2 separate regions of the Homo sapiens genome follow, and region 1 is linked to region 2. The links are contacts of gene promoters, found by promoter capture Hi-C in human tissues and cell types (Jung and others, 2019). All regions are on one chromosome and are shown on one strand. Each heading gives the region's core, a stretch centred on a gene start or on the middle of the fragment in contact. The rest is flanking DNA. Distances are from core to core; before and after follow the strand shown. Region 1 overlaps CCDC174 (coiled-coil domain containing 174). Region 2 holds the start of MRPS25 (mitochondrial ribosomal protein S25).

Region 1 (5,209 bases), core at 567-3,066, 410 kb after region 2:
TTCCAACAAAGCAGCCTCTCTGCTCACAGTAATTCTGATGACATGTATTTTTCAGTGGTACAGACCATGAGAGGGTAAGCAATTCTTTATTCTGGAAATACTTAATGATGGTAAAGAGAAGCCCCAAAGAGTTCTCTTGTGGATGATCTGCGAGTTCTCTTGTGAATGACCACTCTTAATCACAATGTCAGAAACATTCCTCTTTTATTTTACACATCCATTCACCAAGTACTTATTGCACACCTCCTACCTGCCAAGCACTGTTTTAGGCACTGAGGACTCACAGGAACAAGAAAAAGTCCCAGCTTCCTGGGAGTTCCCATTCTAGAGATGGAGAAGGACAATAAAGAAAGGAATGAAAAGGAGGACCTGAGACTGTGAGAAGAGCTGTGAGGGGAAGAAACGCATGCCAGCAGAGAGGCCCCTTGACATGCAGTAATGCAGTGCATGGTGGACCGGCTCACTCATATCAGGCTTCTAAGACCCCTATTTTGGAGGGCTCTTACTGTAACTAGCTGGTCATCAGAGGATCTTACTGTTTTAATGAAAAGAAAACTAGAAAAAATTTAAAAGTCAAACAGAACACAAAGCAACAAGTGTCAGGTTAGAGTGAGTGGGCAGGACACTAACTGAGAGAGGGCAGTCAGGGGAAACCTCTCTGAACATGAAAACGGAGCCATGGCTTGCACAGCAAGAAGCAGCCAACCACAGGAGGATCTGGGGGCAGGGAAGGCAGGTCAGAAAAAGGAAAGATTAAGTGAGGATGAGCTTGACATTTTCAAGAGAGACCAGTAGAGCAGAGGGTGCTGAGCAAAATAGAGAATGGTGCAAAATAGAGACAGAGACAGGCAGGGATGAGAGCACGTGAGAAAGGATATGAAACTTGGTGCAGTGTAGCAACAGTTTTCAGGGGTTAGGAACAGACTACAAATGGATAATTGAGATCAAGGAAGGTGTCAGGGAAACGGCCGCTGGATTTAGTGGATGAGGATGTCACTAGTGACTTTAAAGAACAGTTTCTTCTGTTGAGTTAGAAAGATGGGATTCAGAGCATGAGAGCAGGGACACTGCCTGCAACCTCTAAGTGCCAGACACTATTTATCTCCTTTAATTCCCTGAAGGACTTCATAACCTAAGTATTAACCACCTCACTTCATAGATAAAGAAAGAGTCTTAACAGATAACTAACTTGCCCAAGGCCTTCTACCTCAGAAAAGCCTGGGACTGTGCTTGCGTGTTCTGAGCTCTGGAGGGAGGCAGACATCCTGCAGTTGTCTTGACTCCCACAACACAGCAAAACCAAAGTGCTTCATAAAAGTTACTGCATAGAAAAAGCACAGCAAAGTGCCAAGAAAAACTCTTGATACACAGAGCAAAATAATAAAAGATCATGGTAACTTTGGACAAAATTAAAATTCTGAGAATATGTCCAAGAGTGGGAAATGTCTCAAAACTGATCATATCTTTAAGTAAAGCCTGAGGTCTGTTGGGGACAGGTCAAATGCTAAGAAAATGTCCCCAAATGGGCTAATATTCTGCCTTCTATCTTCAGACCCAAGATTGCTGAGCAACCTTGGCAACTACTGTTTGGGACCACAGAATTTTATTATTCCATATATCCAAAAGCACATGTAGCAGTCATGCCAAACATTGAAACTTGGGATTCTCTCTGAGGGTGATGCTGTCTTTTCTTTAGAAAAATAATAAAGATGGAATGACAGAATTAGAAAAATCATCATTCTGAAACCAGCAATGTGATAACTGATAACTATCAAGATTCATCAATGATAACAAATCATTGCATGGAAATGAGTTGGTGAAGAGGATATTCACACAGTCTCCAAATTTCCCACTTCAGATTACTATTAATTACAAATTGGGGAGGCACCTTTACAGTGGTGAAACCAAGCATATATACCTTAACCAAGTAATCAAACCTATCAACACCAATAACGACTCAAACTGACCTTATGAGCCTCCTGATGTGATTCAATGGGAAGGACACACCACTGCCCACATAGTATTCTTACCAAAAACATTTCATACGACTCTAATTGGTTGTGGGACACTGCAGAAATAACTGGCCTGGACCCTTTAAAAACGTTAATGGCATAACAGACAACCAAAAGGCAAGGGAACAGTTCTAGATTAAAGAAGACTAAACAGATTTGACAACTACAAACAATGGGTAATCTTTGAATCCTGGATTTTTTTTTAAATCTATAAAATACATAATTGTACTGGGATAACTGGTGAAATCTGAATATGGACCACAAAATAGATAATACTAATTTATCAGTGTTAAATTTCTTGGGTTTGATAGCGGTATTGTGGTTATGTAGGAAAATGTCCTTGTTCTCAGAAGATATAGGCTGAACGACTTACAGGGAAAGTATGAAGCTTAAAGTCTCTCTACACACGCGTGTGTGTGTGTAAGAGAGAGAGAGGGAAAGCACATGTGACAAGATGTTAACTGGGGAATTTAGGTGAAGAATATTAGAATGTTCTATGTACCCTTGAAGTTTTTCAAAATAAAAGGTGGGGGGGAAGTTTAGGGTTTCTAAATTCTAGTGTCATCCCACCTAGCCCACACCATGGGAAAACCTCTTAAAAATGTATTGATAATCTTAGTGTCTAACAAAGGCTGACAGCAAGAATGTTTCATCTTATAAACTGTGACTATGTTTTACCTTTTTATAAGACTACAGATATATCTGCAAATTATATTATTTTTAGAGTACTTAGAGCATTGGGCTAGAAGGATGTTAAAAATAAAATTTGTAAATCAAAAAGGACAAAATTTGAACTTCCATTTCTCTGCCTGGGTAGCCTCAAAGCTAACTATATTTACCAGAGCTTATAACTTTACCTTGCTTTGTCTAAAGTCTTCTGTTCTTCAATCTTCTGTTCAGCATCCTTCTCAGCTCGATTTGAAACGCCTACATTCTGTTTGCTCCAGATACTTGGTTTCTGGAGAATAATTTTAGAAGACAAAACAGAACCACATGATTGCCAAAAAATCTCTACTTGTGCATCAGGAAAAAAAAAAACAAAGGAGATCATGAGTTCTTATGAATCAATGGAGATAACTAGATAAGCTGTGTCCTACAAAGATACTGACTATACATGGCAAGCAGGAGCTAAAAAAAGAGCCCTCAATTATATAAATAACTTTTTTTTTTTTCTTTGAGACAGGATCTCACTCTGTCACCCAGGCTGGAGTGTGGTGGTGCGATCTCAGCTCACTGCAGCCTCAACATCCTGGGCTCAAGTGATCCTCCCACCTCAGCTTCCCAAGTAGCTGGGAATACAGGTGCGCACCACCATGCCTGACTAATTTTTTTTTGTAGAGACGGGGTTTTGCCATGTTGCTCAGGCGGGTCTCGAACTCCTGGGGTCAAGTGATCTGCCTGCCTCGGCCTTCCAAAGAGATGGGATTAGAGGCGTGGGAACCACGCCCAGCCTAAAGAGCTTCCTGAGTGCAGAATCACTTCCTACTATCTTTTATCTCCTGAATGATTACAACCTAAATCAAGATTAATGAAAATGTACATATTACAGAGAATTAGTAATACAAATAGTAGACACTATTACCTATAAAACTGGAAAAATTCACAGCTCTTATACACCCTGATATTTTCCGCTATATTCCTATATTATCTAATTGTTTATCTCTATTTGGATACCTAACACTTATAGAACCAGATAACCTTCCATCTGTTTATGAAATGTAAACAATCCACATTTTTCCAAAAGAAGTGCTAAAGAATTAGCACATTACTATGTACTTTTATATAATCTTACTAATTTCTATTTTAATAACATTTCATGCAGATGTTAAATACAAGATAGAGATTTTTCCTTAACATTTATGTGTACAGATACCACTGACAATTTTAAAACACTTAAATATGGTATAATTCTCCCATGTTTGGAACCAATGGAGATAATTAGATCTTATTTTTTACCTTGTTAGTTGTTTTTGGTTTTCCAAAAACTCCAGAATCTTTTAGAAGTTTTTCTTGTTTGAATTCTTCTTGCTTTCGGAAGAGTTCAGCCTTAAGATCTACCAACTAGAATGAAAGCAGTAAGTAAACAAAAATATTAAATTCCTGCAGGTGACTGGATTGCTAAATTATTATAATTTCCAAAGGAATATTTCAAGTTCCGCTAAATGGACAAATATGGCTAAAAAACTAAATGTTTAAGTAACTAAATGTTTAAATGTAGAATCCAGTACACAAATTAAGCTAAGTCATGTTTCATTCTACCTCTGCTGCAAATGCATTTTTACTCTGACTTTCAACACTCGAGGCTTTCCTTAGGCAAGGAGAAAGTGATAAAGCAAAATAAATTAATAAAGTCTGCATCTTTTAGTTTCAGATTAAACTTGCATTATTAAGCACCTTCTCTCTGACTAGCACTGCACTCATTTCATCATCACAACTTATTTCTACAGTGAAATGCTGTAGAAATAACGCTGAAGAGCAGAACATAAACATGAATTAGACATACTCTCTGCCTCAAAGAGCCTACAATGTAACAAGGAAAGTAATTTATACTACCAACAAAATAAAACAAATGACTCTAGAGTGGAAGAAAGTAGCACATAAGTTCAGATAACAGAGCATTTCCTTCTGAGCAGAGTGATCAGAGAAAGCTTAGAGCAGAGCCTTTAAAGACACATTATTTCAACAGCTAGAAATAAAATAGACTGGGTGAATTATAACAGCTCCACGTTTGACTTAATCCATTTCAAAAACCGTAAGCTTGGCTGAATCACACGGTTCAAGAACAGGAAAGAAGGCCAAGGCATAGGGAGTGGGGCAGTTGGGTGAATATTAGTACCTTTCCCTCAGCTACATTAATTACCCCTGCCTACTCTGCAAAAAAGGATATAACAACAGTTTCCTTTTTAATGGTCCAGGTACAGCTGCTTATATGGATGGGCATTTGTAAATCAGATACTTCATCACTGTCTTAATCATCAGATACTTAAAAAAATCACTTTATTTGTTAAGGAAGATAAAAATGGCTGGGTTCAATTTCCGTTTTGGAAGAAATCGATTTAAAAGGTAACCATTTAATAATGCAAAGGGCAGTTTCACTGCAGACCCTAATACTGGAAATTTTTAAAAACAAATGAAAAACTTCTACTTTTTCTTCTAAGCTTACTTAACCACACCAAATTTTCCAGCCACATATCTTC
Region 2 (5,859 bases), core at 2,435-4,934:
TGGTTTTAGCTCAGACACGTAGAGTTTGAAAGTTATCCTATCCTTACCACAAGAAAAAGCTGGGCAAACTCAAAAGCATTGGCCTTTCTTGGTCCCATTAGAGAGCTGAGTGTGCAGGTCAAACTGCCATCCCAAAATCTAGAGAGAGGTGAGTCCAGAGAGTGAGCAAGATCTAATTGCCTGGAGCAGAAGCCACGGGAGCCATAGCTAGTAGGAAAACTTAAATGGTAATTTTGATGAACTGCTGGAGGTTGAGTGTGGACTAGCATGGGAGGGAGCAACTCCCCCTCACCCCCAACGCTTTCCTGGGTTTTACCCTACTTGGTTCTATTGGTGAAGAGCTGAGGAAGACCCTCTGGTGACTCTGGCAGGGGAAAGGGAGAATCATCTTTGTAATCAGAGCCTTCTCCATAATAAAGCTTATTCCCCAGAGGAAAGCACTTTTTCACAGAGCCTTATCCATCTGGAGGAGGGCTGGGTCATGTAAGGGGGTACAAAGGGGAACTAAGAAACACTTGTGGGCCAGTGCGGTGGCTCACGCCTGTAATTCCAGCACTTTGGGAGGCCAAGGTGGGCAGATTGCTTGAGCCCGGGAGTTCAAGACCAGTCTGGGCAATATAGCAAAACCTCATCTTTACAAAAAATACAAAAATTAACCAGGCATTGTGGCACATGCCATAGTCCAAGCTACTCGGGGCTGAGGTGGGAGAATTGCTTGAGCCTGGGAAGTAGAGGCTGCAGTGAGCTGTGATTGCGCCACTGTACTGCGCTCTAGCCTGGGTGATAGAGCAAGACACTGCCTCAAAAAAAAAAAAAAAAAAGAAAAAGAAAAAAAAAGGAAAGAACACTTGTGTAGGTCACAGCCCAAGGACACAAGCCCACTAAAATGCTGAGATTTAATCGTAAGATTATAGAATGCTTCACCTCCCCCATGTTTTTCCACCACATCAACAGGACTCCAGGATAGTAACAGTGAATTATACCTGGAAGAGCTGCAAGACACGGACTCTCTCAGGAGGAATATCGAGGGAAGCCCAAAGGCAAGAGGAGATAAACACAAAGACACTAGAGGAACTGGAAGCCTCTGACACCTACAGCTATGGCAAACATTAAACACAGCTCTCAACTCTGAGCCAGATTAACATAAGTTCTCATTCTAGAGGCTTATTTACCCCAGTTCCTATGGCCCAATAGAGTGGATATTCTACCTTCAACAAAAAAATTATAAGCATGCTAAAAGGCAAGGAAAAAAATAAACCCAACAATCAGATGAAACAAAGCAAACATCAGAATCACACTCAGATATTGGAATTATCAGACAAGAAATTTAAAATGTGGTCTGTTAAGGGGTCTAATGGTAAAAGTAAACAACATACAAGAACAGATGGGTAATGTAAACAGACATAAGAAAACTAAGAATCATGCGAGGTGTGGTGGTTCACACTTGTAATCCCAGCAGTTTGGGAGGCTGAGGCAGGCAGATCACTTGAGGTCAGGAGTTTGAGACCAGCCAGGCCAACAAGGTGAAACCCCATCTCTACTAAAAATACAAAAATTAGACTGGGCACAGTGGCTCATGACTGTAATCACAGCACTTTGGGAGGCCAATGCGGGTGGATCACGAGGTCAGGAGTTCAAGACCAGCCTGGCCAACATGGTGAAACCCTGTCTCTACTAAAAATACAAAAACTAGCTGGGTGTGGTGGTGGGCACCTGTAATCTCAGCCACTTGGGAGGCTGAGGCAGGAGAATCATTTGAACCTGGGAGGCAGAGGTTGCAGTGAGCCAAGATAGTGCCATTGCACTCCAGCCTGGGTGACAGAGCGAGACTTCGTCTCAAAAAAAAAAAAAAAAAAAATTAGCCAGGCATGGTGGTGTGCACCTGTAGTCCCAGCTAAGTGGCAGAGGTGGGAGAATTGCTTGAGCCCAGGAGGTAGAGGTTGCAGTGAGCAGAGATTGCACCAGTGCACTCCAGGCTGGGTGACAGAGACTTTGTCTCAAAACAAACAAACAAACACCCTAAGAATCAAAAGGAAGTGCTAGAAGTTAAAACCTTAAATGAAAAATGCCTTAATGGGCTTATCAGTAGACTGTCCATAACCAAAGATTAAATGAATTTGAAGATAGGTCAACAGAAACTTCCCCACTAAAATGCAAAGAGAACCTCCATCACCCCGCCAGAACATTCGAGAACTATGAGGCAATTCCAGAAGACATAAAATGCATTTAACTTGAATACTAGAAAGAGAAAAGAGTGAAGAATAAATACCTGAACTAATAAATGGCTAAGAACTTTACAAAATTAATGACAGACATGAAATCACAGATCCAGGAGGCTCAGAGGACTCCAAGCAGGACAAATACAAAACATCTACAGATCTGCATTACCTTATTCTAACCCCGTAAACCAAACACCAAGAGAAAATTTGAAAGAAGCTAAAGGAAAAAGCCATCATACCTATAAATGTAATTGCATTTAATTACTTGTTTGAAACCATGCAAGCAAAAAAAGAGTGGAGTGAACTATTTAAATTGTTGAAAGAAAAACACCAGGGCCAGGCGCAGTGGCTCACGCCTGTAATCCCAGCACTTTGGGAAGCTGAGACGGGCGGATCATCTGAGGTCAGGAGTTTGATACCAGCCTGACCAACATGGAGAATCCCCGTCTCTACTGACAATACAAAATTAGCTGGGTGTAGTGGCGCATGCCTGTAAGTCCGGCTACTCGGGAGGCTGAGGCAGGAGAATCACTTGAACCTGGGAGGCGGAGGTTGCGGTGAGCCAAGATAGCACCATTGCACTCCAGAAGGGAGGGAGGGAAAGGAAAAACACTAACCTAGAATTCTAAATCTGGCAAAATCACTCTTCAAAAGAGAAGGAGAAATACCTTTCAGATCAAGAGTACTTCAGAAATGTATCTTTTTTTTTTTTGAGAGGGAGTCTTGCTCTGTCGCCCAGGCTGGAGTGCAGTGGCGCGATCTCGGCTCACTGCAACTTCCCGGGTTCGAGCGATCCTCCCACCTCAGTCTTCTGAGTAGCTGGGACCACAGGTGCTGCCACCACACCAGGCTAATTTTTGTATTTTCAGTAGAGACGGGGTTTCGCCATGTTGGGCAGGCTGGTCTCGAATTCCTGACCTCAAGCGATCCTTCCGCCTCGGCTTCCCCAAAGGCTGGGTTTACAGGCGGGAGCCACCGCGCCTGGCCCTAGAAATACATCTCACCCATAGTTTGTTTACGAAAAAATTGAGGTCCTGAGTTAAGTGGCTGAATTTAGGAAGGAATTGATCCCAAACCATCTTTTTTTCTTTTGCTAAGAAGTTTAAGTCAACGTCAGAAAGTGCAGTTTGAACTCTTCATGATAAAACTGGAGATGTTTGGGGAGAAAAATGGACAATACGTTCAATAGGACGTTATCAGCTGACTTGGTATCCAAACTGAGCTTTCCTGATTATTTCTTATTGCAATGTCTGACTTTTAGCCTATGTAAAAATATTTTCCCGTGGGTGGATGGGGAAATGACTAATTTACAGGACGCGACAACCTAAACCTTCCAAGGGGAAGGCGTCCTAAAGCGAAGCTGCACACACCGGTTCTCGCCGCGCCGGGTCGAAGGCCGCCTACAAGTCCCAGAGTGCTCCGCGGCGTGCGCTGCCCGCCGGGAAGCGTCTCCTGTGCGTCTGCGCGGGAAGTGGAACCTGGCTCTGGGGAGAAGCCGCGTGAGATCCGCGCGGGTGCTAGCTAGTCCTTTCTCGTCGCTGCTCGGCTCGCGGCCCGTGGGGTCGGCCCCGCCACCGTTGCCGCCATGCCCATGAAGGGCCGCTTCCCCATCCGCCGCACCCTGCAATATCTGAGCCAGGGGAACGTGGTGTTCAAGGACTCCGTGAAGGTCATGACAGTGAATTACAACACGCATGGGGAGCTGGGCGAGGGCGCCAGGTCAGTCGCAGCCCCGGCCGCCTGGCGAGCCGTAACCTGCTAGTCGTGCCAGCCTGCTGGTAACGTGAGGTCCCGAGTCGCTCTGGGCGGCCGTTCATCCCCGGGGCGGGCCCCCCAGGTCGGCGCTGTTACCCCCATTTTACAGAGGTCCAGACTGAGGCGGACGGCGGGGCCCCCGCCGGGCCGGCTGCAGTCGTGACGAGGTTTGGGGGGCGGAGGACAAGAACCCCACTCCTGGATCTCCTTCCTCCGGCGCGGTGGGCGAGGCTGACCCGAGGGAGGCCACCAGTTCCCTTGGCCCCTCTGGCCAGCAAGGCAAGCGCTGGGGAGGGGCAGCCGCAGATCCTTTCGGGGTGACGGGGGTGACACCCCAGGACGAATCTGAGGATAAAATGAGAGAAATAACAGCGGCGAACACTGATCATATCTCGCACAGTTCTGAATGCTTCTCGCGCTTTCTTTTTTCTGATGCCTAGAGAAACCCCAGCTTATCCCCACTCTAAGGCTGGGGAAGCGCACAGAGAGGTTAAGTAACTTGCAGCTCCACGAGACACCATGCCAGCCGGTGAGCGGTGAGCCGGGCAGTGTGGCCGCTTCCTTCGGGACTCAAGGTTTGGAAGGAAGTGATTAATTATGTCAGCTGTGCAGCGGCAGACCCTACCCCGACTAGAAGGAACTGTAGGGAACGCCTAGGATGTCTTTCAGCTTGGAGCAGAGTAGGGACTCATTGAATGGCAGTTGGCAAGTGAAAGGTTTGGATTGACCCTGAGGCAGCCCTAAGCAGTGCCTTAGGCTCTGCAGGTATGAAGTCTACATTTATTGAGTACACTCTGAGTGCTAGGCTGTGTGCTGTGTGCTGGGAGTTCAGCAGTGATGGAGGAGGCAGCCTTAGCCCGCAGAAACTTTGGGACTTGGGTGTATGTTGGATCAAAATGAGGCGTGGGGGCGGGGAGCAACTTCTTGTGGGGCATGGTCCCCTTGGTGACGGACCTTCACTGCATGGCCCTTCAAGAGATCCGGAAGCCGCTTCCTAGCCATTTGCTCTGCGCAGGTGAATCTGATAACTTGGACCTGCTTGCCTGGAATCAGCTGGCTTGATGGCTTCCTGGAAGACTTGGTCTTGGTCTTAGGGTGTATGGGCACCCAGATACTCCTTCATAACCTACTGCACAACTGTGCACACCTTTGTCCCCGGGCAACTGCCAGGCAGATAATGGGAAGGGGTGGGGGTCTCGGTGCGGCCCGCAGCGAGCTGGAGAGCACATGCCCTATCCAGAGGGCCCTTCACTGTTTGGCATTGTGGGCTCCGTGGAGAATTTCTCATTTGTCAAGAAGCTGAAATCTAGGTTTTTATGTAAATCTCTGGCTTTTAAATGGCCAGCCAATCAAAATAAGCCTGTGAGCCTCTTACTTACATTCTCAGATATTTTAATGTCCTCTAGGTAAATGGGATACAAACAGCCATTCACTGTTTCTTTGTTCCTGGTGGTAGGGGCTGGCCTGTGCCACCTGTGCCCTCTGTGATCTTGTACCCGTGGGTTGGAGTCTGTCTGCCTTGCTCTGGCTAGCCGCAGTCCTCCCCCAATCCCCAGCCCTTGTTTGTTCATGTGCCCTCAGCCCTTCAGCTGCCCCACTGGGACCTACCTCCATCCCAAGTGCCTGCGACCGGTCCAGCCAGTCTTTGGGTACCTGCTGGGGGCAATGGGAAGGTGCCTTATTTAGTATTTGAGGGCCAAGTCCTTACTCACCTCTGCCAGGTGTTCTACCCTGAACAAGTGGTCCCCAAGCCTCAGGGTGAATTTGATGGTGACAGAACAGTGTGATCGAAGGCCAGACTAATCAGCCCAGTTAGACCTGGGGCAGTTTACTTAACTTCTGACCTTAGTTTCCTTAAATTGTAAAACCCCACCTTCTGGGGTTG

What was found. Contacts are between HindIII fragments. The study calls those that stand out against the background at their distance.
Region 1: a fragment that was not itself captured here is called in contact with the fragment with the promoter of MRPS25 in region 2 in 1 of the 25 tissues and cell types used here (dorsolateral prefrontal cortex).

Annotation. Positions count from the first base shown.
Region 1 is chr3:14,653,290-14,658,498 of GRCh38, reverse strand. It overlaps CCDC174 (coiled-coil domain containing 174), which reads right to left. Exons shown (of 11, transcript NM_016474.5): 2 at 3,969-4,073; 3 at 2,870-2,970. Among named protein-coding and RNA genes, the nearest start is that of CCDC174, 4.1 kb to the right of the region's middle. The HindIII fragment of the contact is 6,308 bases long and covers 1-4,970 here.
Region 2 is chr3:15,063,140-15,068,998 of GRCh38, reverse strand. It overlaps MRPS25 (mitochondrial ribosomal protein S25), which reads left to right and starts at 3,684. Exons shown (of 4, transcript NM_022497.5): 1 at 3,684-3,938. The coding sequence starts at 3,805. RefSeq lists an enhancer at 3,525-3,704. The HindIII fragment of the contact is 13,424 bases long and covers 101-5,859 here.